7 separate regions of the Homo sapiens genome follow, and all the other regions are linked to region 1. Evidence: promoter capture Hi-C in 16 types of primary human blood cells and fetal thymus (Javierre and others, 2016). All regions are on one chromosome and are shown on one strand. Each heading gives the region's core, a stretch centred on a gene start or on the middle of the fragment in contact. The rest is flanking DNA. Distances are from core to core; before and after follow the strand shown. Region 1 holds the start of MTDH (metadherin). Region 2 overlaps RBM12B (RNA binding motif protein 12B). Region 3 holds the start of TMEM67 (transmembrane protein 67). Region 4 has its middle 12 kb from the start of MIR378D2. Region 5 overlaps PDP1 (pyruvate dehydrogenase phosphatase catalytic subunit 1). Region 6 has its middle 3.6 kb from the start of ZNF706. Region 7 overlaps YWHAZ (tyrosine 3-monooxygenase/tryptophan 5-monooxygenase activation protein zeta).

Region 1 (3,029 bases), core at 160-2,659:
ACGCCACAGAGTGTGCAACAGACTCGTTCGTTGAACTCGCCTTAGCTCTTTCTCACAGGACCATACACCTCAAAGCGTATTAGGTAACCGACCCCCTCTTGCCTTGCTCCCGTTCCGGCCTCTGTTGGCCACATTTGCCAGAACAAGAATGGGCAACCATTTCCCTTTAACAGTCCCAACTAAAATGGAAGCGCGTCTAGACCTGGACACCTTTAATCCTGTGTAAGCCCCAGAATTTCTAGGTCACCGCACTTCTTCCACTGCCTACTGTCTCAATGTGACTTGAGATAGACATCTGTCTTCCGAGCGCAGTCTTTATACAACTTCCTAACACCACCTTAAGGTCCCATTACGCTCCACATGCAGCCTACTCTGCAGGCCTCAAGGAAGGATGCTGTGCTTATTCTAGCGGTGACGGTTCCCAAAGATGGCTTGACCTCTGGGCGCCTATCTGAACGGACCCCCAGACCTCCTAACTTCCTTCCTCGAAACTGGGCTTCCCCACTCGTCCTATACTTCCTGAGTTCCCCCCATTCCCCAAATAACATGACCACCTATCACCTCCTCCTCCACTTGGGAGTGCTGCCTCTCGGCTTTCGACTAAGCACTCTTTTCCTTCCCGGCTGGGGCGCGGCCTCCCCCAAGCTCGAGGGTCTCCACGCCCGCCCTTCGCCCGTTCTCTACTGCCGCTCATCCCATACTCACTTTGGGCTTCTCGGACAGTTTCTTCCGGTTCTTCTTCTTCTGTTCCTCGCTCCGGAGATTCTTCAGCAAGGCCAGGTCGTCGGGGGCCGCGGCCGGCACGGCCGCCGCCTCCTCCCGCTTGCGGGGCGGGCTCCTCCGCTTTTTGCGGGCGCCGGCGCAAGCCGCGGCCCAGCCGTAGCCCAGCAGAAACAGCAGCAGCAGCCCGAGCGCGCCAGTGCCCACCAGGATCACCCAGCCGGGGTACCGTTTCGGCTCCAGCCCCAGGTCGAGGCCCAGCTCGGTGCGCAGAAAGCCTAGGCCGACCGAGAGCATTTCCCGCAGCCGGGCCGAGCCCTCCTCGGCCTGCTGGGCCAGCTCGTCCTGCCAGCTCCGTGCAGCCATCTTCCCTCCCGTCAGAGGGACTCGCAGGATGACGCCGGGGCGCGGAGACGCAGTGGAATAGTCGAGGGAAGCGAGGAAGGGCCGGGCCGGGTAACCTCAGGCCGAGCGCATCGCGGCCGTCCCTCGCGCCGGAGCCGGGGATCGGCCGCTGCCACCGCGGGGAGGGCGGAGGGGTCTCCCAGGTTCCCCGCTGTCAGCCTCACTCCGCCGCCGCCAGGAGACCCGGGAGGCGGGAGGGAGTGTCTCCAGTGGCGGCCGCTAAGCGGCGTCTCGGCGCCAGCGCCAGGCCCCGCTGTCCTCCCTCGGCGGAACAATGGCGGCTTGGGCCGCGATCCACGCCGCGCGCGGGGACGACCGTGGGTCACGTGGGCGCCAGTGGGCGGGGCGTGGGCGTCACGTGGGGGCGGGCGGGGTCGGGTGGGGCAAAGGCGTGTCAGGGAAGGTTGGCGGTGGTCGGTTCGGGCCTGGTTAAGACGCGGCGTTGGGGACCCGTTACTGTAGACCAGAAGCTGGGAGGGGTTAATTGGTGGACGCCTTCGCGGGGTGGCTGGTGGCGCAGAGTTAGGAGACGTGGCGCAACGAATGAGTACAGAGGAGGGGCTCCGTGCAAGGCGGGGGCGGGCGGGGGGCGGGTAGGGCTGCAGCGCTAGGAACCGGGTCACCGGGTCTAGGTCAAAGTCGCCCTGGCAGGTATAGGGCTCTTCATGCCTTTTTCTGGAGTGTTATTGAGGTGGAATCGCTTTTTCTCCCTGGTGGCGCCAGTTGGATCCTTCCAGAATGAGCTCAACGGAGTCTGACGCCGAACACTGTTCTTCCGGGACCTAGGTTTAGTTCACAAATTGGGTATTTCTCTCCAGGGTGTTTCTCTCCAGGGCAACTAATACACTGCGTGCCTACCAGTTGCCAGCCTGGCGAGGGCACGTTTGCGTCGTTTGGCTCATTCACTCTTGCTCTCTGTTGTTAGTCCCCAGAATTCAAAAGTTGGAAAGCCCGTGGGCGGCACTATTCTTTTCCTACTAATTTGTAGCTTTAATAACACATAAGGGGAAGCACATTAGATTGTATTTACTTATGGAGGGAGCTTTCTCGTTACGTTTTATTTTAAGCTTTTCTACAACACTGCAAAAGGGGTTTGCAAAAATTCCATTTTTATATGCTATGTTGACCATCTCTGGGATGCAGCTATAGAAGGAAACGAACTGCCTTTTCAAATTTTTTTTTTTTGAGACAAGAGTCTCGCTCTGTCGCCCGGGCTGGAGTGCAGTGGCACTATCTCCGCTCACTGCAAGGTCCGCCTCCTGGGTTCAAGCCATTCTCCTGCCTCAGCCTCCCGAGCAGCTGGGACTATAGGCACCCACCACCACGCCCGGCTAATTTTTTGTATTTTTAGTAGAGACGGGGTTTCACCGTGTTAGCCAGGATGGTCTTGATCTCCTGACCTCGTGATCCGCCCACCTCAGCCTCCCAAAGTGCTGGGATTACAGGCGTGAGCCACCACGCCAGGCCTTCAGGTTTTAATTATAAGGGAAATGCTTGAAGGCTGCCTTAGGGTTTTAAGATTATATTTTGCTATAAGGAAACTCTGTATTTTATCGGTAAATGATCATTAGCGTGTAAGCAACTGTCTTAAGTGAACTAAATACAGGCTTTCTCAAGGAATACAGCAGGGGTAATATTAATAACCACCAAATACCAAAAATGTATTTTGACCTATTTTGCAACAGTGTCGTAATGCATATTGTGATTCATGTGTGGAAGGGAGTTTTGTAAATAATAAATAATAAAAGCATACTACACTTGCCAAGACTTATGATTAAAGACTAAATTAAATTAGGAGGCCAAAAACTTAGCAAATGTTATTGGGATCTGCTTTAACTCAAAGTTTCCAAATTCCATTTATATTTGTGAAATAAGATTTCTGCACGTGTTTTGGTTCTAGAGAT
Region 2 (3,029 bases), core at 146-2,645, 3.9 Mb after region 1:
TATGTTCCCAGGGTAAATCCCGTTAAAATTTTTTTAAAAGCTTAGGAGAGACAAGAATATGTATAGCTTATGGTGCTTTCTAAAATATCTTAAAAAGAGTAGCTAAGCCAATTTGCATAGGAGGGAGTCTTGGGACTTTAATATGGATAAAGTAAGTATTCCAGAAGCCATTTGTAGTTTTTGTTGAAGTGTTAGTATGGATATTGGTTTGTTGAAGAAAATAGGCTTTTTTTCTTTTTTTGTTACTGTGCAAATACTTTAATAGCAAACCTGATTAATATTTTTCAGATGTAGAATGTGTGAAGTAATTTGATGTCTTTGCTAGTTTAGCTTCTGGTTAATCTACGTACCCTTTTTTAAAGGAAAACAGACCTCAGTGAATGTATCTTCAGACCCCCACTTTGGGGAACAGTGGTACTTAAGTGTAAGTACTGGATTCTGGATTAACGCAACATTTATTTGTACATTAAAGACATGTAAATTACTCCAGGCGCAGTGGCTCATACCTGTAAATCCTAGCACTGTGGGAGGCTGAGGTGAGCTGATTGCTTGAGCCCATGAGTTCCCTACCAGCCTGGGCAACATGGTGAAACCCTGGCTCTACAAAAAATACAAAAATTAGCCGGGTGTGGTGGTGCACACCTGTAGTCCCAGCTACTGGGGAGGCTGAGGTGGGAGCATTGCCTGAGCCTGGGTAAGTCGAGGCTGTAGTGAGCCAAGATCGCACCAGTGCACTCCAGCCTGGGTAGCAGAGCAAGAGAGACCCTGTCTCCCCCACCAAAGAAAGTGAGTGTAAATTATAATTATTTATTTGGCAAGTCTTCATGAAATAGTTTGGGTATCCCTGAAAGTATTAAACGCAAACTTCTTTAAAAAATTACATTGAGATTTTTCAGTAAACGGGTAATCCCAGTATTCCAAGTTAATTTTTAATTTTACTTTTCTACATCATCATTTGGGTTTCCTTAGTAGAGTGCAGAATAGTTGTTTGAAATGGAAATCTGCTATTGGCATTATTAATAAGATAAATAGCATTTTCTGTTTGGCTTGAGATGAATTGTAACAGTTACTATTTTTGCAATAGGAGTGGTATTGAGATTTTTAACTTTAGGGATATTGTAGTATTTGCCTTAATTATACTGGCTTCATGAAATTTGGTTCTGTGCTTGGATGTATGAGCTGTTTATATAGACCTTTAAATTGTATCCAAACAATAGCCCATAGGTTTGGATTTATTGTTTTAAAAATTGATTTTTGAATTTCAGGCTTTGCTGTTTTATTCATTTATTGTGTAATTTTGAATGGTTGCCTTAATTTGATTTGGTCTTATGTTTTGAAAGGGAGGAGAACAGCACGAGAGTTGGATATAAATATGTACTAGATTTTTGGATTTTCATGTGGCAAAATGATTGAAGTTCTTTTTTTTTTTTTTTTTTTTTTGAACTTTGGGTATTGAGATTTTACTTGTAGAACAGTTTTTTGAAGTAGATGTAAAACTTGTGTACAGCAAAATGTATAGACCCTAAGGATAGAATTCAGTAAACCTTGATAAATTTATACACCCATGTAACTACTGCTGCATTCAAAATATGTAACATTTCCATCACTCCTTTCTTCGTGCTACTTCCAATCAAGAGCAGTTGTTAAATTTTCGGCAAGTTTCAAATTTTTAAATAATTTTTATATGTCTATTTGGATATTGTATCTCCTTTTTGCAGAAGGATGATTAATTTCCCCTTGGAACAAAAGACCATTTTGTAACACCCGTAATTGTGGTTCCTTATTCTGCTTCACTTTTGATAGGTAATTCTGAAATGGATATCCTACTCTGGCGTTGTTTAAGATAAATTACAGGGTTCAAGGATTAATTATATTTCATTTTCTTTCCACAGTTAAGTTGCTTTTACAGAGTTAACAGGTCTCCAAGAAATTTTAAAAAAGGTAAGATATCCAGAGTTTAAGGCTTTGAGGCTCAACAAAAAACATGTGAAGTAGAATAGTACATCTAGGTATCCATGGCTTCTGTTCTTTTTTTTTTAAAAAGACAGGGCCTCACTCTGTCCTCCAGGCTGGAGTGCAATGGCACAGTTGCAGCCCATTGTATCCTGAAAATTTCAAATTGGGCTCAGGCAGTCTTCCTGCCTCAGCCTCCTGAGTAGCTGGGACTACAGGTGCATGCCACCATGCCCGGCTAATTTTTTCTTTTTAGAGACGGGCTCTCGCTCTGTTGCCAAGGCTGGTCTTGAACTCCTGGCCTCAAGCGATCCTCTTGCCTTGGCCTTGCAAAGCCTGGAATTACAGGCATGAGCTATCATGCTGGCCCTGGCTTTTGTTCTCTGTGTCTGGCCAGTGGTAGGCAATTTATTATCATGAGCAGAAATTATATACTAACCATAGATGACTTTTCTAAATATGTAAAATTCATTGCAGTTGATAAAATAATCTACAAAGCTCTCATGTTTCAGTAGAAGATAAGATTCTAAATGAGTCTGAAAGTAGTTTGGTCTTGTGAAGCAGCATTTGGCAGACTTACAAAGGAAGATTTGATATTTTTGATGTTCCTATTGTATAGAATAGGTGATACGAAATGTTTCTTCAAGGTAGTTGGTTTATTTGTATTTTTAGATGGGAGAAAGTTTATCCCTTGTTTTCTTTAATAATTAGATATGATCAGTATTTTTGTGAACTTGTATCTTGTTTTCATTTATAAATGTTGAAGAAAGCAGGAACCAGGTAATTATTAAGCTTAGTTTGGGCTAAGGTACTTCAAAAATAAGACTTGCTATTATGTGTACCTTTTTGTCTGCAGGTCATTATTGCTGTGGTTTGAGCTCAGCATGGCTGTAGTCATCCGTTTACTGGGGCTTCCTTTTATTGCGGGGCCTGTGGATATTCGTCACTTCTTCACGGGATTGACTATTCCTGATGGAGGAGTGCATATAATTGGAGGGGAAATTGGGGAGGCTTTTATTATTTTTGCAACAGATGAAGATGCAAGACGTGCCATAAGTCGTTCAGGAGGGTTTATC
Region 3 (3,029 bases), core at 185-2,684, 3.9 Mb after region 1:
AATGCAATTGGTATTTCATGAAATAATTACACCTTAGATATCATTATGAACATCAATAATCATATAAACTGTTGACATGGTAGGTCTAAGACAACTCCACTTGCATCAGTCAAAAGAATATACACATCCCAAATTGCACACATCCCAGACTGCTCTATATATGCCTTATTCATCTAATTTTCTTCATAACCGAGTTATTCTACGAGTAAAAACAAAAACTTAAATTTTTACAGCTTTGTGGTTTTTGGATTTCAGATTTTAAAAGAAATACATTTCTGTTTTCTCCAAGTTTGCATGAAATTTCGCTGATCTCCCAAAACTTACTCTAGTAAAAATAAAATTAGCATAGTAATTTTAAAGTCTGTGGGGAAACATTAAACATTAAATTATATTTTGAAAAATAAAGATATTTAACTTACTACTTTTTACAGGTAAGTTATTTTAAAATAAATTATGCGCACCATGTTTTCTGGGCACTTTTTACAAATAATAGCAGGTCCTCCATTATTAGAGATCATCTGAAATCCTGGTAGACATACACATGAAGTTCCTAAAAAAAAAAAAAAAAAAAAAAAAGCCAATTTTATCCTTGATAAATAAAAATAAAGTTCCCAGATAGTGAAACTTTTAATAAGTCTGAAGATCTTGAGAAGCAGTATAGTGATTAACAGCAGGATTCTGGAGGCAGTACTGCCTGGGTTCAAATCCAGAAATACACTTCTTGAGTTCCAATCGTAGTAATCCTACTCAGTTGCATGACCTTGAACAAGTTACTAAACTCTCTGCCTTGGCTTCCTCTACAATAAAATGGAGAAAAAAAATTGGTACCTACCTCACAGGGTTAGTATGAGTACAAAATTAGTTATTATACGTAGAGGTCTTACACTGGCACACAGCTGGTATTATGCTGCTACCATTTTAAGTGCAAGTATAACTAAACTATTAAACTACTTAACTGCTGCTGGAAATTTTACATTTCTACGTCACTAAACAATATACATGTATTCGGGCCAGGCGCGGTGGCTCACGCCTGTAATCCCAGCACTTTGGGAGGCGGAGGCGGGTGGATCACCTGAGGTCAGAAGTTCGAGACTAGCCTGATCAACATGGTGAAACTCCATTTACGGGGACTAGGGGCCGACCAAGGCGGGAGTGTTACTTTTGCCAGGGCCCACCGCAAACCGTCTTACCTCGGGCATCTTGCCTCTGGTTAGCTCCACAAGGAACACACGAGAGGGCGGAGATATCAAAGTACTGGTTGTTGTCGCACTTCTCCGGCTGCTGGAAAGGGAAAGAGAAGGTCTGGGCCTGTAAGAAGCGAGGGAGGAACAACAGAAGGAACGCGGTCACGGCCCGGGCGGATAAGAGGGACCAAACCGCCATTGCCACCCCAGCCCCACCGCGCGTCGCCATGGTACCGACGCTGGAAGCCTCACAGCCTCCAGCCCCCCATCAGCCTCTGCGGCGGCTTCGCTGAGCTGATTGGACAACCCAAGTCCGGGTACCGGAAGTCACTGCTCGTGTTGCTTGGTTGCTAGGTTACCAACCCTGCGCGAAGTTGGCAGGTCCAGTAAAGAATGGGTTAGAGACCGGTTAACCCTGGAGCCCAGCGATATTTTCAAACGTGTATAGAGTTCCTCTACTTACGATAGGGCTGCCCCCTCCCCGCAATAAACCCATCGTAAGTTGAAAATATCATAATTTGTCGAGTTATAGTTACATCAGAATTTATTCAGACTAGGTAATTTTCACGTTAAAGGAAACATGACTTGTAGTTTAACAATTTGATGTCAAAAAACCCCACTGACTTAAAACCCAGTGAAGGATTACTATAGCTCAAAGACTGAAAAAATAAAAAAACTTTCCTGCCAGGTTTGAGCATAGGAAATCATGTATGCGAGACAAAGTACGAAACGGAAGAAACCATGTTTGCTCATTCTGTTGCCAGCGAAATTTCACAAAGCCCCTGACTCAGTGACTGAACGCAGTCCTCCAGAAGAATGCCCTGAAGACAATAAGTAGGATAGAGCACAAGTTTTCACATCTGTTGCTTGAATCACTTCATTTTTTAAAAAGATACAGTCAGCGATCCTAGCTCTTGCCTCTTCCTGTACGTAAGATAACGTGTGACAGGATTAATGATTATGCCTCTGTAATCTATAACCAGATGTAGTCTCCAAACAAAACTTTGATGAGATTTTGCTCCAACGTAACTTCTGAGCACGTTTAATGTAACTTTTGAGCACATGCAGAACTCCATCCCTTGATGTAGAAACTGGGGGCAGAACAGCTGCTTTGGACCAGTATAACATAAACTCTTTGAAAGACTCTCCAGGGTTGCATTCCTCAGTAAGACTCCGAATAAAACTAACTTTGAGTCTTTAAAAGCCTGATTTTTTTCTTTAGTTGACATGTATATAAAATGAGATCACCTTTACACCTTTTGTGAATAAAGGAATCTAAGCCTGGTGCTGTGGCTCACACCTCTAATCCTAACATTTTGGGAGGCCACAGTGGAAGGATTGTCTGAGCCCAGGAATTCAAGACCAGCCTGGGCAACATAGTGAGACTCCACCTCTACAAATAAAATTTATTTTAATTAGCTGGGTGGGTGGCACATGCCTATGGTCCCGGTTGCTTGGAAGGCTGAGGCGGGAGAACCACTTAAGCCCAGGAGGTCAATGAGCCCAAAGGCTGCAATAAGCTATGATCGTGCCACTGCACTCCAGCCTGGATGTCAGAGACCCTATATAAAAAAAAAAAAAAATCCTGGACAAAAATATGGAAACGTTTAGAGTTAGAGACCACTTGCGAGGCTAAGGTAGAAATCTAGAGTCTAAATTGGAGCCATGGAGGAAGGGAGAGGCAGAAGAGGATGAATAAAGGAGCTATTCAGGAAGAAGAATTATAAGAATTTTATTATTTGGACATAGGAAGTAAACAAACAGAATCAAGGATAACTTCCAGGTTTCTGATTTGGGTGGCTGGGTAGACGGTTGTGATATTAAAGGAAGATACCTGTGGTAGAT
Region 4 (3,029 bases), core at 226-2,725, 3.7 Mb after region 1:
GCAGCTGGCTTTCCCCAGAGTGAGTAATCAGAGAGACAGACAATGAGAGAGAGAGACAAAGACGGAAGCTACAGCATCTTTTACAACAATCTTGGAAGTGACATACAATTACTTCTGTACCCTGGTAAAATTTGAGAAAGCATTCCACAGGGGTATGAATTCCAGCAGAAATCACTGGAGGCCATCTTGGAGGCTGCCAACCACAGTGAGTACATGACATAGCGGAACCTACATGATGCTGCTTTTGCAGAAGTGTTGGATTAGAAGAGCCTCAAGTTTGGTTCTCAGAGCTGTTCCCATTCCTTTCATCTTGAAAAGTAGGGAAATAAGCACCAGCAAGTGCTGATGTTCTGGGTTTCTAGTTTTGTTCCTCTGACCCTGGTTACAATTGCCAGTGCTGCCACAGTTTCATCCATAAAGTTTTGTGTAGCCTCACATCTCCGTTTAATCACTACTAAAAGTAAGTCCAAATTTGAACCTCCAGTCAACACTAAACAACTGAATGTTTGGATACCACTAAGGAGTTAAAATAATAGCTAATGGACCAGGTACAGTGGTTCATGCCTGTAATCCCAGCACTTTGGGGGGCCAAGGTAGGGAGATGCCTTGAGTCCAGGAGTCTGAAACTTCAATGAGCTATGATCATACCACTGTACTCCAGCCTGGGTGACAGAGCAAGACTCTATCTCTTAAAAAAAATAAAAAATAAAAAATAACATAACACTATGTATGCTTACATTCTCTGAATTTAGTAGTGTATGAAATGATTGATTATAATTTTATTCCTTGTACTTTTTATGTTCATGGGAAATGTATGCATATAGAGGATACAAGTTTTTGGTGATTCCACCCCCCATGAGGGGAAATTGTCAATGTAATGAGAAAATCCATAAGGATTTTTTACTGCATTGCTGAACTGTAGCCAGATTTTGTCAGGGAAATAAGAACTTATTGTTTTCCTAGTTTCAGGGAACTGCTGGCTCAGTGTTCAGTTTTCATTCCACAAATCCATGACTCACGAATAAATGACCTGGATAAATGAACACTGAGGATCTCAGTTGCAGCTGGCAATTACCCTACCTTTTGATGGCACTTATTCTATTCTGCATCTGGAAATTCCATTTCCACTTGAAGTATGTATAAATGGATGTCACCCTTAAGGTTTAAACACAACCCCTATTACTTAGCCAAGACTGTTCTGAACAATGGTGTTTACTAATTAGCTCAATTTCAATTTCAGTTTCAGTTCTTGAGCCATTACTATGTGCCTGTGGTATTTTAATGTTCTTATAACTTTCTTTACATCTTGGGGCTTCCCTTCAGGGCCTGTTGTGGTATGCCAGTTTGCAAAAAAGGTGATCAGTTTTGTCTAGGGAGAGAAACTTCTCTTTACATTTGACTTAGTTATATGCAAACTAATTGGATAAACACTCTTTGAATGTTTGTGTTCTAGGGTTTTTGCTGTGTTCTGCAAATGGAGAAAAGCGTAAGACATAGTCTTTATGCCTTTAAAAATTTGGCCGGGCATGGTGCCTCACGCTTATAATCCCAGCACTTTGGGAGGCCAAGGTAGGCGGATCACTTGAGGACAGGAGTTCAAGACCAGCCTGGCCAACATGATGAAACCCTGTCTCTACTAAAAATACAAAACAATTAGCCAGGCATGGTGGTGGGTGCGTATAATCCCAGCTACTCAGGAGGCTGAGGGAGGAGAATCGCTCTAACCAAGGAGACGGAAGGTGCAGTGAGCCAAGATCATGCCATTGCAATCCAGCCTGGGTAACAAGAGTGAAACTCTGTCTCAAAAAAAAAAAAGCAGGCTTTTTTTTTTTTTTTATTTCTTGCAAATTAATTTCCCCTTAACTCAGATGTGGTGAAGCCACTGACAAGCAAATTGCAGGAACTCCTTTATATAGGAGTGTGTCTCTTCCAACTCCAGCTTAAATGTAATCGTTTATAACACGGCTCCTAACTTTTTGGATTTCAAAGACCCGCCTTGGCCTCCCAAAGTGCTGGGATTACAGGCGTGAGCCACCACACCTAGCCTATGCTTGCTTTTTAAAACTGGTTTTCGATGCTTTTCTTGTATGTGTCTGGGGGAGTGGGGGCCAAGGTGAGTAGTAGGAAAGAAAACTTGTACCCACAGTGGTAGAGAATGTGAACTGTAGTTGTGGAAAGCAGCTGTTGCCTACATGGAAATGAAACTGGTTTGGGAAGGATTCCCTCCGCATAAAATCTTAAACAGTTTAGGTAAAATTAGGCCTGATGAATGTAAACCTTCTACTTATTTCTAGGTGTTAGGCTAAAAAATAAAAAGGACCTTTGTATATATGGGTCTTTTTTCCCCTCTGATATTTTGCAAGGGAAGGAGAGAAGGGACAAGCCATTGGATTCGTGTGTCTAAGCAAGTCAGCAGTAATAGAATATTTAACTTGGCCATGATGAAGGCTGACTGCCCAGTGTTCTTCATTCAATGCACCTACAATAGCAGAGCTTTTCATGGATTTGCACATAAATGCCTCTCTGGAATTGAACTATATCCATACTTTTCTGGAATGTGTCATCTTTGAAGTGCGATTCAAGGAGAACCACAAAGATGATAAAAGGACTAAATAATCAAAAAATTCTTATGAAGAGTATAGGGATTCCTCTATCTGAACTCTGAGGCAGTAATCTAACAGGAGTTTATCTGTCCTGGGTTTCTCCCAACATAAGCATTTTAAGAAATGATCAAAGATTTCCTTGAAAACTTGCCAGACAACAATAGTAAATAACAGGCTTCTGTCTCTACCATGCGCTTGGACACATTTCTCATGTGTGTGGTGAAGCAAGGGCTCTGAGGTCAGACCCGCTCCATCAAATACTTGCTCCACCCCTTGCTACTGTCAAGTCACAGCCTTGCTAAGCCTCAGTTTCCTGCTCTCTATAATGGGAATAATGGTTCTTATTTCACAGGGCTCTTGTAAACAGAAGTATTATACATGCACTAGCACTAGCACATGATACTACTTTTTATATTTTAAGTGATA
Region 5 (3,029 bases), core at 313-2,812, 3.7 Mb after region 1:
AGGAAATCGGGTGGATAACGGAGTATAGTTATTCCACTTAAGAAGCATTCCAGTCAAATAATCACAAAAACAAATTCAGATTGCTTGGATCTTGGTCATTTATGGCTTGAAGAACTGGATTTGAAAACCACTTTAGGCTAAAATAAATGTATATGAATAATGCATAGACTGTGTATCTAGAAAATCATGCAATAAATATATGTTCTCATGTACACTGGAATCTCAGTGAAGAAAGGTGTGAACAGTACTGTTTCTTCACTTTAACCAAGAGACTACACACAGCAAGATACTTGCTTTTGGCCTATTCAAGATCTTATTTGCCAGGTCATCCTAATTTTCTCAGGTTGGTAAAAGAAGCTAATGTTTCAAGACACCTGTGATAAAGAAGTGACTTGCTTCAAGTGCAGGTGCCATGAAATCTGAGCTAGGCAGGACCAGACTCTCCTGACCCTGCCACCCTGCTGCAAAGTCAATTTGGAGTACCTGACTAGCTAGAGTATCAAAAGGGTAAATGCTTAGAATGACCAACTGGAAATGTTTATTATAGTAGTATCTTTTTAAAAAATCTGCCCTTTAAATGTATATCATTTGAGAATTGCCAGTGAAAGAGCCACTCACTATTCTTGGTTTTGATACGCCCCTACAACATGAGAATTGAACTGAACTACAATGATTGTAATGTCATCTCTGTACATTCGAGCAAGCTCTTCAGGAAGACTAAGCATTTTAGAGAGGCGCTCATGATCAACAGTCCCAAACTCGTTGTTGCCCACAGCGTGGCGAATGAGATGGGTTGCTGCGTTCTGATCCTCAAATACCGAGGACATTTTGGTTCTCCTTTCTGTTAAAAGGCCATGCATCTGTCCCAGAGTCACCTTGTAGCCACCAACAGCTATTGGCTGTTGGTGATGCATGCCAGTTAGGTACTCACCCACAATCCTAACCACATCCTGCCTATGCATAGTCTCCCACAACCCATCAGTAGCCAACACCAGAAACTTATCCTGTGGCCTTAATCGGTGGTAAGTTACCTCTGGCTCAGCAGTGAGATAAGGAGGTGTGTGATAATTAGGAGGAATAAACTTGGTATATTCATTGTCATTCAACTGGTCTGGGCCAGATTCTATCACTCTCTTTTGAAGGTCAATGCTCCATTTGAACTTTACATCTCCAAATGCCCTAAATGGCATCAGCAAGCCAAGCAGCCGATCCTGTTTCACGACACTCTTGGCCTCACTCTTTGGATGTTCCAATTTCAGCCGTTCTAGTTCTCTTTCATTTTGAGCATTGTGGTCATTAGACAGCGTGACTGCTGACCATGAGCCGTCCTCTTCCTGCACACCCAGCATGGCTCTGCTATCGCCAGTATTGGCCACATGAAGGTCAACACCATCCACATGGGCCACACAAGCAGTGGCTCCAGAAAATGCCACTCGAAGCACCAGGTAGTTGAGAAAAGAATTAGGATCACCAACTTGCGCCTCCAAGGAGATGTCATTATCAAGCCTCTTGAAGGCATTAATTAGAGCCTCCTTAACATCAATATCAGTCGACTCACCAGTGTTGAGGTCTATAAGCTCTTGCCAGTAAGTCCTCAAGCTGTTAAAGTACAATTTGGATGCCTCCTTACTAAAGTAATCATTGGGGTGCTTGTGCCACTGGAGAATGGGTAGCAGTGCCCGGCCGCTCTCCACTGCATTTTCAATCTCTAGCAAAGTCTCATGGGGTAACAAAGAGACAGCAATATAATAAAAGAGTCTTTCACTGACTGCCTGGGAACAAGCACAACCTGCATGGCCATCAAAAACCCCCAAAAGCATCCCTCTGGTCTGCAAGCAGGTTGCTGCACTTCTCCGGTCCTCAATGGGTGCATTTGCAGGCAGCTGATTGCTGTCAAATCCAAGGATAGAACTGACATTTTTGCCGTCAAATTCTGGCACTTTGAAACTGTATTCATTAGCTTTAAGGATGCTATTGACTTGTGGAGGTGTGAGGTAAAATTTCTGTGGTGTGGAAGCATATCTCCTTCCTTGGGTGTACTGCCACCAGTTCTCCTTTGGCCTGCAAAAGGTAGCATATGCTGGATGAGGTGTGTATCTCAGTCGACTCTGAGGAATGTACGATGAGGAACAACAGAGATGTTTGTGGTGGCAGTAACATGCAGTGCCATAGATCCTGCTCAGTTCACAGTTACGGATGAGAGGAAAAAACAGTTGAGTTGGTGCTGGCATGGCATCAGAGAACAGTGGCAGGCTGGAACTTCTGACTGGGATTCCTAGACAGCAAATTAGACAGATGTACACAAAGGAAAGAGTTACATTTCAGGATACTTAATCTAGCTTTGCCTTTATAACAAATATTAAGCAAGTCAATCTACATGTTAAGCCTTTGCTAGAAGGTACTACATTTTATACACACATCATGTACTATTTCTACAGGGTATATTCTGGCAGGCACAACTCCCAATCATTCGTGGAACCACGACTGAACTCCTGGCTCCTATACTCAAACTTCAATTTTCTCTTTTCTTTGTCGTCCTTTGTGCAGTACAAACTGTGCAGAATGTACAACAGATTTGGCTGGGGAAAGCTGAGGAGATGAAGGTTATATAACATTATGCAGTAGCCGTCTACCTGACCAATCATCCTTCTCCCTCCCTATTCTTAAAAAATGCCTTGAAATCTCCCATTTTACACAGGGACTTCTTCCATTTATGAAGACCCTTTACATAGACCTGTGGTCAATTTTTGGCATGATTACACATGGCTATGACCAAAAATGTTAAGAGGCAGCCAAACATATGTGTATTTATGAATTACGTGTACATCATATACATATATGACTACAGTAATATGCATTGTAACATATATAGAAAAATTTCTACATAATTAAATAAAAAAAGAAATTCCAGTATTTCTCTCCTGTACCCCAGTAGATGGTCTTGCAAAACTTGCTTCTCTAGTCCACTGTGGCAATTTGCCAGGCTAACGGGCATAGGTCTGCCACCAACTCCCAAATAATCTTGGAAA
Region 6 (3,029 bases), core at 530-3,029, 3.6 Mb before region 1:
GGGGGCTCAAGGAAGGACCTCCTTTCACTTAGCATAACGTTTTCAAGGTTCATCCAAGTTGAGGCATGTATCAGAACCTCATTCCTTTTTATGGCCAAATAATATTTCATTTTATGGCCATACCACAGTTTCTCAGTTCATCACCTGCTGAATATTTGGGTTGTTTCTACTTTTTGGCTATTATGAATAATGCTGCTTAAAATGTACAAACTTTTGTGTGAACGTATGTTCTCATTGCTCTTGGATATATATCTAGGATTGGAATTGTTAGGTTATATGATGACTCTATGTTTATCTTTTGGAAAACCACCAGACTGTTTCTAAATTCTTCACCTCCTCTCCAATACTTGTTATCATCTGTCTTTTCGATTACAGCCATCCCAGTGCGTGTGAAGTATAATACTATCTCATATTTTGATTTGCATTCTTTGATGACTAAGAATGGTGAGCATTTTTTCATGTGCTTATTAGCCATTTGGGCATCTTGTTTGGAGAAGTAGCTAATCAGATCCGTCACCTATTTTTTAATTGGGTATTTGCTTTCTTAGTATGAAGTTGTAAGCATTCTTTATATATTCTAGATAGAAGTCATTTATCAGATATATAATTTGCAAACATATTCTCCCATTCTGTAGGTGGTCTTTTTTTTTTTTAATGGCATCTTTTGAAGCACAAAGTATCTTAATTTTGATGAAGTTCAATTTATCTGTTTTTTTTCTTTTGTCACTAATGCTTTTGATGTCATACCTTAAAAAGCCTTTTTTGGCCTGGCACAGTGGCTCATGCCTATAATCCCAGCACTTTGGGAGGCTGATGCAGGTGGATCACCTGAGGTGAATCACGAGGTCAACAGATCAAGACCATCCTGGCCAACATGGTGAAACCCCATCTCTACTAAAAATACAAAAATTAGCTGGGCATGGTGGCGTGTGCCTGTAGTCCCAGCTACTCGGGAGGCTGAGGCAGGAGAATCTCTTGAACCCGGGAGGTGGAGGTTGCAGTGAGCCAAGATTGCGCCACTGCACCCCAGCATGGCGACAAAGCAAGGCTCTGTCTCAAAAAAAAAAAAAAAAAAAAAAAAAAGCTTTTTTAACCCGTGGTCATACATATTTACTCCTATGTTTTCTCCTAGGACTTTTATGTTTTAGCACTTACATTTAGGTCTTCTATCCATTTTGAGTTAATTTTTGTATATGGTATGAGGATAGGATTCAACTTTATTCTTTTACATGTGGATATCTAGCTATCCCAGTAATATTTGCTGAAGACTCCTTGCCCCATTGAATTTGTTTGGTGCCTGTGTTGAAAATCAATTGACTATACATATGAAGGTTTATTTTTAGACTCTCAATCCTACCTCATTGATTTATATGTCTAATCTTATTCCAGTACCACACTGTTTTAATTACTATAGCTTTGTAATAAGTTTTTAAATTGGGAAATGTGAATCTTCCAATTTTATTCTTTTTTCAAGGTTGTTTTGGCTATTCTGGGCTCCTTGAATTTCCATATAAATTTTAGAATAAGCTTATGTAAAGATACCAGACAGGATTTTGATAGGGGTTGCACCGAATCTGTGGATCAACTTGGGAATTACTGCCATCTTTACAAAGTGTTCTGATCCATGAACATAAGATACCTTTCCATTTATTTAGGTCTTTAATTTCTTTCAACAATGTTATTTAGAGTTTAGAATACAAGTTTTGCACTTCTCTTGGTAAGTTAATTCCTAAGTATTTTATTCTTTTTGGTGCTATTCTAGTAAATCACATTATTTTTTAAGCCTATTTTTAAAGTCTCTGAAATCAAGATGTATCTTAGAATCAAGGATATCAGCATTTTGTCATAGTTCAGTTGGCAGTATTTTTTAATCTTAGTGGACATAAATGTGACTTACAATTAATGGCTCCTTAGACTCAATACAATATGCTATTAAATGTGAATGTCTATAAGACATCAGAGGGGAGATGAGTAGTAGGCATTTGGATATGTCAATTTGGAGATAGAAATGTGGGGGTCACCTGAAGCTTGCTATTTAAAGGCACAACAGTGAATGAGATTCCTTTGGAGAAAGAATATAAAGAAGACAAGAAGATCTAGGTTGCATGTGTGAGAAATCTCAACATGCAGAAGCGAGTGAAAGAGAAAGAGCTGGTAAAAAATAAATAAATAAAAATAAATCCATTTCTGTTCTAAGTTTATTGTTGCCATTATTGCTGTTGCTATTATTTGCCACTAAACATTTGTCAGAATAGTCTGTTTATTGGGAAAATAATATGTTGATTAATCACCAATTCTTTCATCCCCCCAAATCCTACATGAATACAAATAAACAAATAAGCCTTTCAGGTCTTTAGAGAAGCATTTTAATCTGATTGAGATTTTGGATAGAAAATAGGCACATGTTTATTGCATCTTAACCTTGGGTAATTGTCTAAAGGCAGAAGAAGAAAAACAGTCAGGAGAGTTACTGTAGCATTCACAATTAAAGCCAGCAATGTGTATAAAAATGCTTCTAAGGAGTTCATATCACATTTGCTGTCACATTTCTATAACATAAGTAGGACACCAGCTGGTAGTAATGCTAATTCATCCGCCTTTCATTTACTGAGTGTCACTTCACAGATGTTGAATCTTATCCATTCCTTGTTTCTTTTTTTTTTTTTTTTTTTCAAATTCCCTAACCATCACATAAAGTTACCATTATGCCATATCCTCTAGGCAGTGGTTCTGAATCAGGGGAGACTTTGACCCCCTGAGAACATTTCACAATGTCTGGAGACATTTTTAGTTGTCACAACTGGAGATGAGGTGCTACTTGGATAAGCAGGTAGGAGACAGGGATGTTGCTAAACATCCTACAATCCCCAGGTCTCACAGAGCCCCATAATAAAGAATCATCCAGCCCAAATTTCAACGGTGCTGAGATTAAGAAACACTACCTATGAGGATAAGTTACATGATAAGTACATGAACTTTCTGGGGGCAAAGTCAATAGCTTTCACCAAATTCTCAAAGGAGTTATGACT
Region 7 (3,029 bases), core at 139-2,638, 3.3 Mb before region 1:
TCAGTTTTGTTAAAAATAACAGACTTTAGTATTGTATTTTATATTAATTGAAAATATAAACTAATTGTGTTACTGTTTTACTTATGGTTAGAATATTTGTAGTAGCTCTATAGCTGGTTATCTTAAATGTACATCTGTGGATAAAGGAATTTTACATACTTTAGGTAAGAGAGATGTAATAGGATACTCATTGTAGAAATAGTACTCTTCTCAGGATTAGCCGCTATAATGTTAATGTAATGAGTCAACCATGCAGAAAACTCTGGCGTCACAACTATGAAACCTCTTCCTGCATTGAATTCTTGAAGGTAAATTTTGAACACTCACAACCATGATGAAAGGTTATGAACAACTCAAGCTTGATTTTCCAGTTTGAATCGAGTATTTTAAGTATTCAGTACTTACTGTGTTGAAGCACTGCGCTTAAAAGAATTAAACTACATTTTGGTTAATTTTAATCTGTCATATAAAGTAGGGCTTTTTGATCAAGAATAGTTTAAATTTGAGGATAAACCAGTAGAGAATCCAACCAAGCTGGCAGTTTTTGGAATAATATTTAAAGTGGTTTTACTAAATGGTTACACTTAACCAGTATGGAAGGGCTCTGATATACAAAGAGGGGCAGCATCTCGATTTTTCTGGACAGATTACTGAATCTGGAACTCAGTATGGAAATCCAGGTTTGTTACTTACTATATGAACCTTGTTTATGGAAGAAGTGCTATAATGAGCAATAGGATAATGTCTGATGTGGTTGTGGGTTTGGGGTTTTTGTTAAAGTTGTGATGATACTATCATTTCTTTACATTTGTATTTACTAATGGAATAGCATCAGTTCCTAAACTGTAATTTTCTCAAATGATACTTACTTGACACTGTCTTTTTAAAGAATAGTGATTTTTTAAACATGCTTATTTGGGTTCACAGCCACAAACTCAATGAGGCATCTGTCTTGGGGCATTTTTTTGTTCTTTGCTTATTGAAACCTTTAGAATGATAGCTACTATTTGTATCTAAGTTGAAAAAAGGAATATCTTGCTTTTATTGGGGCCAAGTGACAAATGTCTGTTTTGTGATTTTGCTAAGGTAATAAGAATATTTAAATTTTGTTTTTTGTTTTTTTTTTTTTTTGAGACGGAGTCTTGCTCTGTTGCCCAGGCTGGAGTGCAGTGGCGCGATCTCGGCTCACTGCAAGCTCCGCCTCCCGGGTTCACGCCATTCTCCTGCCTCAGCCTCCCGAATAGCTGAGACTACAGGCGCCTGCCACTGCGCCCGGCTAATTTTTTTGTATTTTTAGTAGAGACGGGGTTTCACCATGTTAGCCAGGATGGTCTCGATCTCCTGACCTCGTGATCCGCCCTCCTCAGCCTCCCAAAGTGCTGGGATTACAGGCTTGAGCCACCGCGCCCGGCCAAATATTTAAATTTTGAAAATGTGATTTTTTTTTTCTATAATAAAAAATGTATTGGGTTTTTTTGTTTTTTTTGTTTTTTTTTTTTGCTCACCTTACTAACTAATATCTGTGTATGTGTAATTCAGTTTTGTTCAGTCTGGAGTGTTTTTCCCAATTATTACACCTGATCGAAAAGTTTTTATTTTGGCTTCAAAGGGTGTGTTACACATTAACATTTCCCTTAAGACAAAAGTCAATTTTAGGAATAAAAAGGAATGTAACATTTACCTTTTACTAACACGCTTATTTGCAATACCAGGTAGGTATGTGCATGTTTTCCATATACAAAGTATAAAAGTTCCTGTCATTGTGAGTCTTTTCCAAGGAAAAGACTTGTAGCAGGTTTGTTTTTTGTGTATGTTTGTTTGTTTGTTTGTTTTGAGACTGAGTTTTGCTCTTGTCACCCAGGCTGGAGTGCAATGGCACCATCTCAGCTCACTGCAACTTCCGCCTCCCGTGTTCAAGCAATTCTTCTGCCTTGACCTCCCGAGTAGCTGGGATTACTGGGCGTGCACCAGCACGCCCAGCTAATTTTTGTACTTTTAGTAAAGATGGGGTTTCACCTTGTCGGCCAGGCTGGTGACCAGGTCACGTCTAACTCTTGACCTCAGGTGATCCACTCGCCTTGGCCTCCCAAAGTGCTGGGATTACAGGAGTGAGCCACCACGTCCAGCCCAACTTGTAGCAGTTTTGACTATGCTTCCCTTTAGTTTCCTTATGAAGAAACTTTGTTTGCATAGAACCAGTAGATGAGGATAACAAGATAATCTCTTCATATAAATAGTTTCTTCTTGTTATGATTATTAAGGAAGTTCACTCTGGTCCCTACCCACATCGTTACCCTCCAGAATAGCACTGGCTTCCCAAAAAGTTTTAATGGTATTTACACTTTGAAAGTTTGGATAAATGAGAGTTTAATTTCTTTACTATACAAATGGCTTTGAAGAGAATTCTAAACAAGCTTTTGCTTCCAGCCTTGGTCTTTTCAGGAGTAAGACTTAGTGATCTTTGCATACTCAACGTGTAATAGATGCTCAAATATTTGTTAAACAAGCAGAAAGGCTTCTTTAGAGAAAGAGCATAGAATTAGGTCAGCAGCACTGCAAAATTTCCCTAGCTTTTTCTTTTTCTGCTTGGGAAAATTTGATATTTACCGATAATAGGCTTCTTTTTCCTACCATCTTTTTCAAATAGGTCACATCGACTCTGGAAACATATTGCATAAAATTCCTTCTGCCCTTTCTGTGAGATGGAAGAATAAAATGTAGCAGAACTGATATTTCTACTAGAAAAAGTTATTGAATCATTATTAATGATTAGTAAAAATATTTTAAATTATATTTTTAAGATCTTACATGATAAAAAATCAATTATAATTTTTTATTACTCCAGCCTTTTCTGGGCTTTGATATATATATTTTTTAATTTGAGAAAAATAAGCAGGTGTCCCTTTGCAGAAATAATAGTATTGGCTTGTGGCATTAGTGATAACCAGATTTTTTATATTGAGCACCTATTTTATAATAGCTATGAAAATAAACTTTCTTCCTACAAAAAGCAGCTAATCTCCAAAGTT

What was found. The method cuts DNA at HindIII sites, captures the fragments that hold promoters and counts their contacts. A CHiCAGO score of 5 or more calls a contact.
Region 2: a fragment that was not itself captured here is called in contact with the fragment with the promoter of MTDH in region 1 in 6 of 17 cell types (total B cells, fetal thymus, naive CD4 T cells and 3 more); the score reaches 11.1 in total B cells.
Region 3: the fragment with the promoter of TMEM67 here is called in contact with the fragment with the promoter of MTDH in region 1 in 1 of 17 cell types (naive CD8 T cells); the score reaches 6.0 in naive CD8 T cells.
Region 4: a fragment that was not itself captured here is called in contact with the fragment with the promoter of MTDH in region 1 in 1 of 17 cell types (total B cells); the score reaches 6.6 in total B cells.
Region 5: a contact is called between a fragment that was not itself captured here and the fragment with the promoter of MTDH in region 1, in 1 of 17 cell types (total CD4 T cells). The highest score is 5.9, in total CD4 T cells.
Region 6: a contact is called between a fragment that was not itself captured here and the fragment with the promoter of MTDH in region 1, in 1 of 17 cell types (fetal thymus). The highest score is 8.3, in fetal thymus.
Region 7: a contact is called between a fragment that was not itself captured here and the fragment with the promoter of MTDH in region 1, in 1 of 17 cell types (fetal thymus). The highest score is 6.7, in fetal thymus.

Annotation. Positions count from the first base shown.
Region 1 is chr8:97,642,564-97,645,592 of GRCh38, reverse strand. It overlaps MTDH (metadherin), which reads right to left and starts at 1,409. Exons shown (of 12, transcript NM_178812.4): 1 at 706-1,409. The coding sequence starts at 1,086. RefSeq lists silencers at 280-448, 732-801, 1,072-1,531, 1,712-1,821 and enhancers at 1-578, 579-1,559. The HindIII fragment of the contact is 3,502 bases long and covers 1-2,194 here.
Region 2 is chr8:93,736,219-93,739,247 of GRCh38, reverse strand. It overlaps RBM12B (RNA binding motif protein 12B), which reads left to right. Exons shown (of 4, transcript NM_001377960.1): 3 at 1,893-1,941; 4 at 2,810-3,029. The coding sequence starts at 2,838. Among named protein-coding and RNA genes, the nearest start is that of RBM12B-AS1, 2.4 kb to the left of the region's middle. The HindIII fragment of the contact is 2,705 bases long and covers 43-2,747 here.
Region 3 is chr8:93,753,299-93,756,327 of GRCh38, reverse strand. It overlaps TMEM67 (transmembrane protein 67), which reads right to left and starts at 1,434. Exons shown (of 28, transcript NM_153704.6): 1 at 1,191-1,434; 2 at 462-550. The coding sequence starts at 1,413. The HindIII fragment of the contact is 4,875 bases long and covers 1-3,029 here.
Region 4 is chr8:93,902,618-93,905,646 of GRCh38, reverse strand. No RefSeq gene overlaps it. Among named protein-coding and RNA genes, the nearest start is that of MIR378D2, 12 kb to the left of the region's middle. The HindIII fragment of the contact is 5,771 bases long and covers 1-3,029 here.
Region 5 is chr8:93,921,262-93,924,290 of GRCh38, reverse strand. PDP1 (pyruvate dehydrogenase phosphatase catalytic subunit 1) reads right to left here. Exons shown (of 2, transcript NM_018444.4): 2 at 1-2,275. The coding sequence starts at 2,231. The coding sequence ends at 618. Among named protein-coding and RNA genes, the nearest start is that of PDP1, 5.9 kb to the right of the region's middle. The HindIII fragment of the contact is 3,370 bases long and covers 1-3,029 here.
Region 6 is chr8:101,207,710-101,210,738 of GRCh38, reverse strand. No RefSeq gene overlaps it. Among named protein-coding and RNA genes, the nearest start is that of ZNF706, 3.6 kb to the right of the region's middle. The HindIII fragment of the contact is 500 bases long and covers 1,530-2,029 here.
Region 7 is chr8:100,945,356-100,948,384 of GRCh38, reverse strand. All of the region lies in intron 2 of YWHAZ (tyrosine 3-monooxygenase/tryptophan 5-monooxygenase activation protein zeta), which reads left to right. Among named protein-coding and RNA genes, the nearest start is that of YWHAZ, 5.2 kb to the left of the region's middle. The HindIII fragment of the contact is 2,056 bases long and covers 361-2,416 here.